Linked DNA regions of Homo sapiens: all the other regions are linked to region 3. The links are contacts of gene promoters, found by promoter capture Hi-C in blood cells and fetal thymus (Javierre and others, 2016). All regions are on one chromosome and are shown on one strand. The core of a region is centred on a gene start or on the middle of the fragment in contact, and the rest is flanking DNA. Distances in the headings are between cores, read along the strand shown.

Region 1 (3,128 bases), core at 404-2,903, 580 kb before region 3:
TTGGCATTCTCATTGCTAAAGAGAGTAATTACGCAAATGATTTTAAGATTTTTTTTCCAACTCTACCACTGTATGGCTCTACATGTGTTTAAGCTACCTTTGGAAAGAAATGATGTTACATGTATTAAGTTACCTTTGGAAAGAAAACGAAATAAAATTGAACCTAAGACAGATGCAAAGCCATATTTAATCCTACGAAGCCTTAATCTTGATGAACTTTCAGATCTGTGCTACAGACCCCAAGGTTACAATGGGTTAGAGCTGCCAAGTTATAGGAAAATACCAACCAGGCCAAAAACGTCTTCAATAAATGTGAACCTTGTAAAGCCAAGTATGACTCCCAATACCTTGGTAAAGAAACCAAGGTGTCTTTTATGTTGAAATCTCTGGGCACTGAGGGACAAACCATGACTGTTTTGTGGGTTTACATAACAAACAAACAAAAAACACTACTTTTCCCATCAACATGTGTTAAACAAAGATTAAAATCATGCTGAAGGATAGCAAAGAAATTTACAATAGATGAAAAAAGTCTGTGTTCATTCATCAAATTACTCTACCAGAGAATAGTTTAACAGGTAGATTAAGTAAGTAGCATTGTAAAACGCTAAGGTAACATGACTGAGAATTTTTTAGTTACCCAGGTATATTATTAAAATATAGTTTTTGTGTTCTGTAATAAAAGAAAACAATGATTAGCTCAGTCAGCATTACTGTTCATTTCTCTTTAAGGTGCTTTATAATAAACAGTTCCCCTGTTTGCATCATTAAAAACCTGTTGGATAAGAGGGGGAAGAAACATTTTGGTAGATAAAAATGGACTCAAAGGGCCCAGTATTCTGGAAGAGGACTGACAAGTCCAGAGATTCTGTAAAGTTTCCTTGAAACTACTGGGCACTTCAAATGTAGGGTGAGATCTTATAAGAGGTGTGACTCAGCTACTTGGAAAGCTTTCTGATGCTTTAAGAAAGAAAATTTTAGCTTGTACATACATGCTAGAAAGCCACAGGCTGATGATCTTCCCAGCAGACCACTAACTGAATGGCAGTCCCATGCTAATACACCTTTCTGACTGCTTATGAATGGGGGATGTGTAGAAAAAAATTACAATATGCTAATTTACATGCGCGCACGCACACACACACACACACACACACACACCCCACACACACATTTTGAAGTCTAGGAAGAAGCAAAGATCTGATGGCTATATTCTATCTAGAGTGACTGGCATTCAGCCACAGAAGACATCTTTGCAAAGTGCTTGAGGAACAAATCTGGAACTTACAATGTAGCAGGGCTCGCAGTATGCTTTCTTTTCCACAGCATAGAATGGCTGCCCTCGGAGCTTGTTGTTGCAGATGATGCAGGTAAAACAATCCACGTGGAAGACCTGATCCATGGCAGTGCATCCTGTACCTTCCCCAACTACGTTTTCTCCACAGCGAGCACAGCGGCCTGGAAAAAAAAGGGTTTGATAAGAACACACCAAGGAGTACTTCAGTCCTGCTAAAGCCAAAGTGGAGGAGAAAGCAGGTTCATAACGTCAGCAGCAATAGAACCACCACTCCTGCCGTCATTACCCCAGTACTATTACCCCATTACCCCAGCAAGATCACCAGTACAGCCACCCCTATCCTCTGCAAGATTGGCATGGAGGGGATTTTACATTAATCGGTTGAGGGGATTGAGTCTCATAGTCTAAGTTCTTGCAGAAAGGAACAGTAGAACCCGGTCGCTGGCTTTGAGGTCAGTGCTCTGACTCTCATCTCACATGCAAGTATAAAAGGAACATGACTCAGGATGTTTGGAGTGGAAGGCAAAATCTATAAAACAGTACAGAAGAGTCTTTCTTCTTGGAGATTCTACACATCCAGTTAGAATGTAAGATAATTGGGTCCAAACTCAAATTTTAGTTCCTTTTACAAAAGCCCTGATTGTAAAACCTCTGCAGCCAGCTCTCAGTGACAGGCAGATCCCAAGGCAGTCCTTTAATTTCTAGATCGCTTTGATGGCTAAAAGGTTCTTTCTCCTACTGAGCCATAGTGCTTCCTCATTCTAACTGCTTACCCCATGGTTCTAGTTCTGTCTTCTGAGACCTTATCTCTCTCTTGGACTTGACATCCTTTAATACATCAAAATTCAGTAAGCATTGCTTCCAAGTCTGTTATTCCTTTGAACATCCACACATCCTGCAATAGTTTCATATACTGTAGGGTTTTGAGTCTTTCAGGGCCACGGTTCTCGTTGTTCATGCAGTATTCTGCGAAGCTCCAGCATTCTTAAATTGATTAATGTGGCATCTGGCCTACATATGGACATCAGGTTTCAGTTTTTAAAATTTGCAGTAAGCTTTAAATAATAACAATAAAATATAAATTCAGACAAATAGTTATGTCAGTGAGAGGCATTATGCTGGTTGCCATCCATATCTCTATGTGGCTCCATCATGGGAATCTTGAGCTAGACGTCACGTCCACATCTAGTTTCCCTTCTTAGTCTTTGTTTCTACTAAGTTAAAAAAAATTCTATCTAATAATTATAGAACACTGGGAATGTTAGCCAGAAGCTGTAGGCTTTGATAGATAAGGTATAGCAAATGTAGTGCTTCACATATGTCAGACTTTTTCTAGGGGCTTTAGATATATTAACTCATTTCATATTCACAACAGTCTATATGCAGGTACTGTTATTATGCCTATTTCACAGATGAGGAAACTGAGTCACACAAATGGTTAACTAAATTCCAGCCTAAGCAGTCTAACTTCAGCATCTGTGCTCTTAAACACTATGCTATATTACCTATTCCCAGTTCTGTGCATCAGGATTAACATGGATCTGATGTTAGGGAGCATTATGGAGAGACTTCTCACTGAAGACGGCTTTCAGCACTCCATCACATTGGATTGACAGCCATTTCACACTCAAACATGGGAGGGCTAGATGTTTCAACGTGAGAGAAAAAAAGGTAAATTTATTTCTAATCCTCTCCAGTTGTATTTGGCCCTGAAAAGTATTTCTTTATATCCTGTTGTGGGATTTGAATGTGACTTTAAATATAACCCAAAGTATACATCTTAGTTTTTTTCCTAAGGAATAAGAAATATGAAGGCTGGGTGCAGTGGCTC
Region 2 (3,267 bases), core at 663-3,162, 780 kb before region 3:
CACAGAGGTTAATCTCTCTGAGAAATCTTCCCTGACTACCAGTACAGATAGCTGTTCCTTCCTCTGTGTTCCCTTACCACTTTGTACTGGCCTCTAGGGTTGCATTAAGCATGTTGCATTGCAATTTTTTACAGGTCTTTCTCCTTCACTACATTAGACCAAAATCATGCCTTCTATAGCCTCAGTATCTTACACGATGGCCAGCAAATAGCAGGCACTTAAATGTCTGACGAAAGAAAGAAAAGAGCTTTTCTTTTTTTTTCCCCCAAAAGAGGAAAGGAAGAAGGGAGGGAGAAAAAAGAAATGGAAGGTGGAAGGGAGAGAAAGAAAGAAGGAGAGAGAGGAGAGGGGAAGAAAGAAAGGAAGGAAGGATGGAAGGAAGGGAGGGAGAAGGGAAGCAGGAGGAAACAGAACAAGGAAGGAAAGGAACTTTATTTTCCCAAAGATAATCCTATATGAGATAGTAATGATTTCTCCTACCTCTCCACATATATGGAGAATCCATATTTATTTCAGTATCTCGATTAAGTGGCTTATTTGGATCTAATAAGACATTTATTGACTCTTGGTTTTCTATCAATTTTGAAAAGGCCTCTAGAAGATTTAATAAAGTATAGAAAAAATAAATAAGTGTACAGGTAATAAACTCTAGATTACATAAGCAAACATTATTTAATTACATTCCCATTAATATACTAACTCTGTAATGAATTTTTGAGCCATTTAATTATCAATTTGACAAGATAATCTAGGAGTAGTTAATGATTATACCAGTAAATTGTTTAAAAAAATCACTGACAATTATTAAGTCTCATAACAGACATCAAATTAACTTGCTAGAGCTGTCTGGTTAAATAGACAGCAGTTAATTATGAGGTATTTACACATGCCTCAAATTTTAATATGCAAGCCTTTTTAATAGTGTAACGTCAAAGGTGTTGTGTAAGGGAGCAGTTTACCCATGGGGAATACTCAAATTCCATGCAGTGTGGCCACTAAACAAGCAAGAGCATGATCTTAGATGCTTTGGCTGGGTTTTCCCGGTTTTCATCCTGGAACAGGAATATAGAGCTCCCTAAAAGAGGAAAATGACTGTCATACACAGTCAGGCTTGTGAGCCATTTGACTAGGGGATGTGGTCAGATTACAAAGGTTTAGGGTAACATTTGCCCCCTTACATGCACTAACGATGGGTCGGACCTGTGCAAGATGTTGTATATAAACTGCCTCCTTTAATAATCAAAAAATAGAAAATCCCACATCAATAGGCAGATTTTCCTCGAAAAGCTTAGTAAGAGAGGGAGAACGAAGAATCATATATACCAGGCCACTGAAATGGCTTCATCTTAGCTTAAAATGGCAGCCGGAGGCTGTCAGCCACTCCGGCTGGAACTAGACAGAGGGCAATGGTCTCACTGTTGAAGACATAAGCCCAGTCTAAGATCCTCTGCTTTTCAGGAGTCCAGAGTACCTATGTTTCAACTTGTCCTCTACCCACACTCTGTGGTTCCAGGAGACCCTGTCTGACCCCACGAATGGGTCAGTTTTCATTCAATGAGCAGTAGAGAGGAGAAACTTGATAAAGCACGCTGACCCTGATCCTCACAGTTCCAGATTTGAAGTTCTTTCTTGAAACTGCCTTCTCCACTGCATATTTCACCATCATTTTTATATGTGATTTATGCTTCCCCATCAAATTGCAAGTTTCTTGGGTCCTACTCCTCCCTCACAATGCCAAACACAGTGGCTATTGATGCAAACTAAACATTCAAAAAAATATTTCTTGAGCTGAAATGAATTAAACTGAAATGAATTGGAGTGAATCAGATTGCCGTGGATGGGACTGAACTAAACTGAATGGGACCTTGTAAGAAAGAAGAACAGATTCTAGAATTTATATTTGACTTTGGTTTCTCTTAGGCCAAAGCTGTTTCAGTGATAATAAGGCAGCATGAGGGCTGTGCATGGATTCTGTGGCCAGAATGTCTAGGTTCAAACCTCAGCTCCACCACTCACAACTTCTGTGATGTTGGATAAGTTACTCAACATTCCTGTGCCTCCCTGAGTAAAGCAACAATAATGATAGTACCTGCCTCATAGAATTGCTATAAGGAATCCATTCAATGAATTAATTGTTATAAATCCCTTGGAATAATGCCTAGCACATAAAACATACAATATAACTTTTTTAATAAAATAATTTTTAAAAATCACTACTTTGAATTGCATTGCATTTTACATGTGGCAACTCATATTTCATCCGTATAAGAAGAATGATTTTCATTTATCCAATAAGAAAACTGAGGCTCATAAAAACAAATGCAGAATAAGAACTCGAGCAGGACATACACTGTTGTAGAAGTTGAGCCCAGTTCTGTCTTATTTAAGGCATGCTTTCAGTTCAGTAGGCACCCTTTCCTTATGATATCTCTGGCCATTTTAACAGGTAGTTCTGACTATAGTGTATGCTATTGGTCACCTGATAGACAAGAGTTATGTAAAGTCACAGTATCCTCAGTATTATCGGAATAAGCTTTCTCTTACCCGGTGCTCACGAAAGCAAAGGATTTTAGTCTGGGTAAAGATGAAAGATCTATGACATAGTGTGACAGAAAAAGCCCCAGTAAGGAAGTTGAAAAAAGTGAATTCTGGCCCTGGCTCAACCACTGGCTTCTGTGATATCAATAACTAACATGTACTGAGAGCTTACTCTGTGCCATCTACTGCATTTATATCATTTAAACCTCACCACAAAACTCAGGCACAGATACTTTTATTATGCCACTTTTCAGGTAAGGAAACTGAGGTTTAGCAAAGACAAGTAACTTATTCAAGATCAAATTGCTTTTAAGTGGTATAATTCATCTTAATGATCTCAAAGGTACTTTCCAACCCAGTCCACCTATAATTGAGTGAGCTCTTGCCTAATCCTCACTCCTCTAGAGGGGTGATCCTGTGGTTCTAGCCAACTTTAAGTCAAATCCCAGGCACCTCAAGGCCTCCCAGGATGCCAGTGTTGAAAAACTGGTGAATTATTGCATAATGTGGGGTTTTACAATCATCGAAAGAATAAAACAGAAAAGAAAAATTAGCAAAAGGTAAAGCCTTAAATCTTTCCCCGTTCATACATTTCATACCTTTATTTACAAAGTTGGTAATTGTGAAGTTCATTCCATTTTGTATTTTTCTTTCTTCACTTAAAATACTATCATGAACAATTTTCCTTATTGATAATAGTTATATTTTAGAATTACAGAATTTGACTAT
Region 3 (3,287 bases), core at 261-2,760:
CAAGGCTATGCATATATTGGTGTCTGGAAATGAAATTAATTAGTAAATCAAATCAATACATTCTTATTGGCCAAGCATCACTCACGATCCCTTCTGACTTCATCCTAAAAGTGGACCCAACCAACAACCCCCTATGTTGCTTCACAAGTAATTTCTGACCAGTCAGGCACAGATGCCATGCAAAAGACAAGGCCTCAAGGTGCCATTATCTGTCAAATGGACCCAAGGCAGGATGAGGCTGAATGAAAGAGGAGGAAGAGGAAGAAAGGCTCACTCAGGGGGAGAGGGGAAGCTGCTGCAAGCTAACTACTGCTCTCACTGACTCAGGATGCCCATTTCTCACAACCAGAGGCCACAGTTTTGGAGCAGACAAGAGACTGCAGAGAGGCTTGCTGAAGCTCACTCCACGGCTGGATTCCTGGCAGGATGAGAAATGGAGTTCTAGTAAACTAGAAGGAATGCTGCTGGCAGGAGACAGACCTCTCGAGAGGGCTTTAAATGGAAATATGAGAGCACGAGAGGAACTCTAAGTGTAGAAAATGCACTGGGCAAACAAGCGTGTCGCAGATGTGGGCGCCCCAGAAGGGAAGGAGCTCTGGAGTCACAGGGGACCCAAAGGACAGAATGTCAGGTGGCCCTCCAAGCCCGCAGGTGGCAATGGGAACAAGGCGGGAAATGAACTGGAGAGCTGAAGGCGGGGGCCTAGGAGGAGGCCGCAGAGCTGTGATGAAGGGCTGCTCATCAGAGGCACATGCACGGGTCAGATAAAGAAGCTCCGCTGCGAAGACAGGGGGCAATGCAAGGCCACAGCCGAAGATTCCATGCATGCTCTTCACGGTGGCAAATTCAAAAGCCTTGGAGGGCAGCATGCTTCTATGATAATAGGGAATGGGGGCCGGGGGGAATATGTAGACCCCATATCAATGCTCTCAAAACCTCTCTCTCTCTCTCTCTCTCTGTCTCTCTCCCTCCCTCTCTCTTGCTCACTCTCTCTCTCTCTCTCTCTCTCTCTCTGTCTCTCTCCCTCCCTCTCTCTTGCTCACTCTCTCTCTCTCTCTTTGTCGTGCTCTCTCTCTCCCTCTCTCTCCCACTCCCCACCTCTGGCCTAATATACCTGCATGTCCACAGAGGCACCAATCTGCAATGATGATGGACTCTCTCACCCACCCTGCTACTAGGAAACTTCTTCCATATATCATAAACAGAGACCAGTATTACAATACTTCACCCACTGCGCCAATTTGGCTTTCATGTCTGTTTCCTGTGTCGATCACAACATCCTAGACAGCCCAAACAAGGCTTTATTCACCTCTAGTCCCCGGTCCCTGGAACAGCAGACAATAAATAAGGAATCAACAAGTGTCCTTCACTGCCGCACACATTGGCTGTGAATATCCTTTTGCAAAGTGCAGAACATCTGAAAGATTCTCACATTGACTAAACAACAGTGTGACCTGAAGTTAAGAGAACCATAAAGGTAAATGATTGCTAGAAGTTTAATTCCAAACAAGGAAGAGCAATTTGATGCAATGGGCAGAAGACAAACATTGGGAGAATGAGAACGTATCCTCTTGAGTTGTGATGTGAACAAACAGAGATTCCAAGATCTTGCAAAAGCGAACAGTCAGCAACCAGCATGGTGCTTAGAGTAGTCCCTGGGCAACAGAAAAAAAACAGATAAATGAAGAAACATGGACAATCACCCTACCTGGGTCTCAGCGTGAGGAGGAGAACTAGGACTTCCAGACAGAAAAGAGGAGAAGCATGAGGAGGGGGCTGGGAAAGACATTTCCCTGTGGGCATGTGGTGCCCTCCACTGGGGCCAGAATTCCCAACCTGCCTCACTCTCCCCATCTGTGAAATTGGCTGATTCCCTGAGGTCCCTCCCAGCACTGACTATCAAGTGACAGAGAACCTAGAAACTCCAGGAGCTCCATCAGAGCCCTGACTACCTGTCCAAGTGAGACTGTGGGAGCCTCACTCTTCTCACACCTGTAAACTGAGGGTGCTGCAGTGTCAGCTATATCAACACTCCCAAGTATGCCTTTGCCAAAACCTCTATGGATGAGAAAGGAAAAGAGCATGTATGGAATTGGCCAGGGCTTAGAACCATCTTGAACATGACACACTTATGCACATCGTCACATCTTCCCAGCATCCCTGTCCCACCTCGGGCAGCAACTGTCAAAGTTCTGCCCCCAGGATGACCTCCCAGAGTCCTCAGGGCAGCTCCATCTCTCCAGCCCTCATTCCTTTCCAGCTCTTTGGTGTTTCCCTGTAATAAAAACACTGTGCACTTCTCTTTTCATGTTTTAACCATGAAGTGCCTTCCTCCAGACAAGTACTTTAATCCTTACTCCAGTCAGAATAGGTAACATCAGCATAATTACCATCATTACTCCCATTTTACAGAGGAGAGGGCTGAGGCTCACGTAAGACCTAATCTTCATCTTCCCAGGGATCCTCCAACTCCTAGCCAGGCCTCTCCCAGCTCCTAAATCAATCATGAAAGACTACAGCAATCACATCCAGTACTTTTCTGATCTAGTGTCTTTGCCGCTAAATAAAGGCAGAAATCAAGGTGGCAGGATCAATCCTGTATTCAAATCACTGTACTGTCTGCCACCCTCCTATGCTGGTCCAGGGAGCAGAACTGAAAATGTGCCTCAAGGCCCCAATCCAAAACAGATGCCATCACCCTGGACAGATTCTCCAACCATGCTCCAAGACTGGTATCCATCTCACTTCAACCAGCCCTCCTTCCCAGGCCTGGGTCTGTCTACTGGCACAGGGGGACCCTGCCATGAAAATGAGGGCATCTCTACTGGATTGCAGGCGATCCCCTCGCTGGGCTGGCCCACCCATTCAACCATCACTGGACCACCCCCAGGCCTGCTACCCCTTCAGACACTCAGCCTCATACTGCCTAGCTCTTTCTACCAGGTCTCTCCCTCAGATCAATTCCACCTCAGCCCCAAACTTGCCATCTCCTAAGCAGATTTATACTTCTTCCCAATTTCTATCCTTCCTCTAGCTCATTACTGCTTTCCTGTTGCTTAAGCTAAGTCTATTTCAAATTATAGCTCAGAGAGGGCAGGTGACTTGTTCAAGACTACACAGCCATTTAGTGGCAAAGCTGGGGCTTGAACCCAGCTCTCCCAATTCTAAGCCTTGTGTTTTTCCACTAAATCTCAGCTGTCTCTCTCTATCATACTGCTCAAGAAGCCACTGGTGCATGAGAGGGTGCAGACCACATCTTATTCTCTTTAGTAATGTGTACACTAAGG
Region 4 (2,917 bases), core at 298-2,797, 550 kb before region 3:
ACAAAAAAATAAAAGATTAGACAAAAATGACCAATGCCAAGGAAAATTATAGCTCAGCTTCTAATAACTTACCAGCTCAAGTGCTCCATCAAAAAGATCAAGCTTCCTTGGGAATCAGCAAACATGCCCCAGATAATCCAGGAGCTTCATGTGGTTGTTAAATCCGAATGATCTTTCCCACAGTGGAAATACCAGCACCAAAAAAAAAGGTGGAGTGAAATCTCAAACTTTCCTTTACCCCAAGATTAGAATCTATGCAAAGGGTAGGGCCTCTTAAAAAATAGACTTATTTAGGTCCCCGCCATGCATGTTCCCAGGACCAGGATTGTTATGTCTAGAAGATCACTGAAAATGTATCAGAAGAGCACTGTCACAGGCAGCGTAATGCCTCCCAAAGAGGACCATGTCCAAATGCTTGAAACCTATGAACATGCTACTGTATATGACAAAACGGACTTTGCAGATAGGATTAAGTTAAGAGTTTTGAGATAGGAAGAGTATGTGAGGTTATTCAGGTGGGTCATATCTAATCAAGTAGGTCCTTACCAATTGGAGAACTTTTCCCAGCTGGGGCCAGACACAGAATGACTATGAAAAAAATGGTCAGAGGTGCTATGTTACAGGCTTTGAGGATGGAAAAAGAGGGCCACAAGTCAAGGAATGTGGTCAGTTTTTAGAAGTCAGAAAAAGCAAGGGGGATTCTCCCCTAGAAAGAACCTTCAGAGACAAATGCAGCTTTGCTAACATGATGGTTTTAGCCAGATGAGACTCATGTTGAACATCTAACCTACAGAACTGTCAGATCACAGATTGTGTTGTTTTAAGGCCTAAGTTTAGAGGTATCATAAACACTTATTGACACAACCCCTTTTAGTTGATAAAATTTCTCCTCCTATCATGTCGATCCAGTTTGAGAATGACAAAGGGAAGAAAGGGCTTAATGTATTTGAACAAAGGTTAAATATGATAAATTCACTCATACTTCCTTACCAGATTCCCAGAATATTTTCCTATTAGTGTTTCTCCACTTACAAGTGAGTACCAAGATATCTCCAACCTTGGGATAATTCACTCAATTCATAACTACCAAACACTGTAAATACGTGGTACAAAAAGGAAATAAGGTTTCCAGAGTTAATGGAGAAAAGTGTTAGCCTGGGCACTGGCACTTGGTGGCTGTGGCTTACACTCCTGTTTCAATCTGGGCACCATTTGCTTCATCAAAATAAATAAATAATGAAGTCAGAATTAGGAGATGATTTCCAAGGTCCTTTCCATGGTAAACACATACAACCTCTTAAGTAAGCATCAGGATCTTGAAATATTTTCTCCTTGAAGGTGGGACCAGCACAAACAATGCACATATGCACATACGCACAATGATTTTCTAAAGATCTACTAATTTCTTAGAAAGTTGAAAGTAATCTTTAAATCTATATGTGTGTATATATGTACTTTTAAAACATCATGGCCATTTTTTAGTTGAATCTGGTGGATTATTCACATAATAGTATTCTTTTTTTGGAGACAGGGTCTGGCTCTGTTGCCCAAGCTGGAGTGCAGTGGCATGGTCACAGCTCACTGCAGCCACCAAAAATTCCTGAACTTAAGTGATCCTCCTCCCACCTCCACGTCCAGATTAGCTGGAACCACAGCATATGCCATCATGCCCATCCATTTTTTTTTTTTTTCACTTTTTGTACAGACAGGGTCTTACTATGTTGCCCAGGCTGGTCTTGAACTCCCAGGGCTCAAGCAATCCTCCCACCTTGGCCTCCCAAAGGGCTGGGATTATAAGCGTGAGCCACTGTGCCTGGCCACATAGTGTTCTTACAGTATTGCTGATGTGTGAAAATCTAAACACACACAAAACACACCAAAAATATAGCTGGCTTGATTTGCATTTCTGCATACCTAGGCACTTCCTGTTTTGAACTGAAAGAGAACAAAAGAGAGCAATATCATGTTTCTTATCCCACAAGCACTTTAAATCTATTCCCATTAAATTTCCAGCCCCATTATTCCCTATTAAGTGGCTTTATAAGGTTATCCAAGTGGTATACAGCAGTAGAAATGGTTATCCCTTCAGTTTTACATAAATCACTAATCTGATGTTACCCATTGTTTGACAATAGTCAACAATTTCCCATTTTGCACAGGTAAACATCCAAAACATCCTTCCTATGACTATCACACAAGATCTTTTATCACTGAACTCCAGACTCTCTATCCTTCCTTGTCCCACTACTTGTCCCTCAACTCAATGTGGCTTCAGCCACAGAGAAGTTCTGTTAGGAAGTAACATCTTCCTGTTCCCAGAATACCATGTTTTCCTACCTCTATACCTTTGTACATGCTGTTTCTTCTGTATCTAACATCTTTCTTCTCTTTCTCTACTTGGAAACATTTTATTCCTTCATGAAGACATCAGATATCACCTCTTAATCTCCCTAGGGAGGTTTTTCCTAGAGCTCTCAAACATTCCCTCTCATAATCATAGGTACAGAGCTCCTTTATAACATTTATCACATGGGAAAAGGGATTATCATATATTTTTTATTCTCTAACCTATAATGGTCTATGGACTTCTTGGGGGCAGAGACCTCTAAATTTGTTCATGGTACATTTTTTTTTTTTTCAGAAAGCACTTATAGTAATTCTAATTCACCCCACCTAAGACAGAGATGGACATATCATAGGCTCTGCATAAATATTTACTTAAACCAAATAACCTTATAATCTACTGTGTCATTAGTAGACATACCAACTCACTAGAGAAGGGAGATCACATAAAATCTGGAAGATAATTTGCTTGCTGGGTTTCACCATCTCTGTTATTTGTTCAGTTATCAAAGGAACAGAAATTGAAAACAGACACAAAAAAGCTATGCAACCCACAAATCTACTATGAAAATGT

Evidence for each region. Contacts are between HindIII fragments. The CHiCAGO score rates a contact against its expected background, and 5 or more counts as called.
Region 1: a fragment that was not itself captured here is called in contact with the fragment with the promoter of FLJ42393 in region 3 in 1 of 17 cell types (naive B cells); the score reaches 5.1 in naive B cells.
Region 2: a contact is called between a fragment that was not itself captured here and the fragment with the promoter of FLJ42393 in region 3, in 1 of 17 cell types (M0 macrophages). The highest score is 5.2, in M0 macrophages.
Region 4: a fragment that was not itself captured here is called in contact with the fragment with the promoter of FLJ42393 in region 3 in 3 of 17 cell types (naive B cells, neutrophils and total B cells); the score reaches 6.0 in naive B cells.

The regions. Positions count from the first base shown.
Region 1 is chr3:188,758,443-188,761,570 of GRCh38, reverse strand. LPP (LIM domain containing preferred translocation partner in lipoma) reads right to left here. Exons shown (of 12, transcript NM_001375462.1): 9 at 1,289-1,458. Among named protein-coding and RNA genes, the nearest start is that of MIR28, 71 kb to the right of the region's middle. The HindIII fragment of the contact is 1,402 bases long and covers 953-2,354 here.
Region 2 is chr3:188,958,863-188,962,129 of GRCh38, reverse strand. No RefSeq gene overlaps it. Among named protein-coding and RNA genes, the nearest start is that of TPRG1-AS1, 13 kb to the right of the region's middle. The HindIII fragment of the contact is 1,246 bases long and covers 1,290-2,535 here.
Region 3 is chr3:188,176,766-188,180,052 of GRCh38, reverse strand. It overlaps FLJ42393 (a long non-coding RNA gene), which reads right to left and starts at 1,510. Exons shown (of 1, transcript NR_024413.1): 1 at 1-1,510. The region is part of intron 1 of LPP (LIM domain containing preferred translocation partner in lipoma); the gene reads right to left. RefSeq lists an enhancer at 134-746. The HindIII fragment of the contact is 11,595 bases long and covers 1-3,287 here.
Region 4 is chr3:188,728,597-188,731,513 of GRCh38, reverse strand. The region is part of intron 8 of LPP (LIM domain containing preferred translocation partner in lipoma); the gene reads right to left. Among named protein-coding and RNA genes, the nearest start is that of MIR28, 41 kb to the right of the region's middle. The HindIII fragment of the contact is 2,886 bases long and covers 105-2,917 here.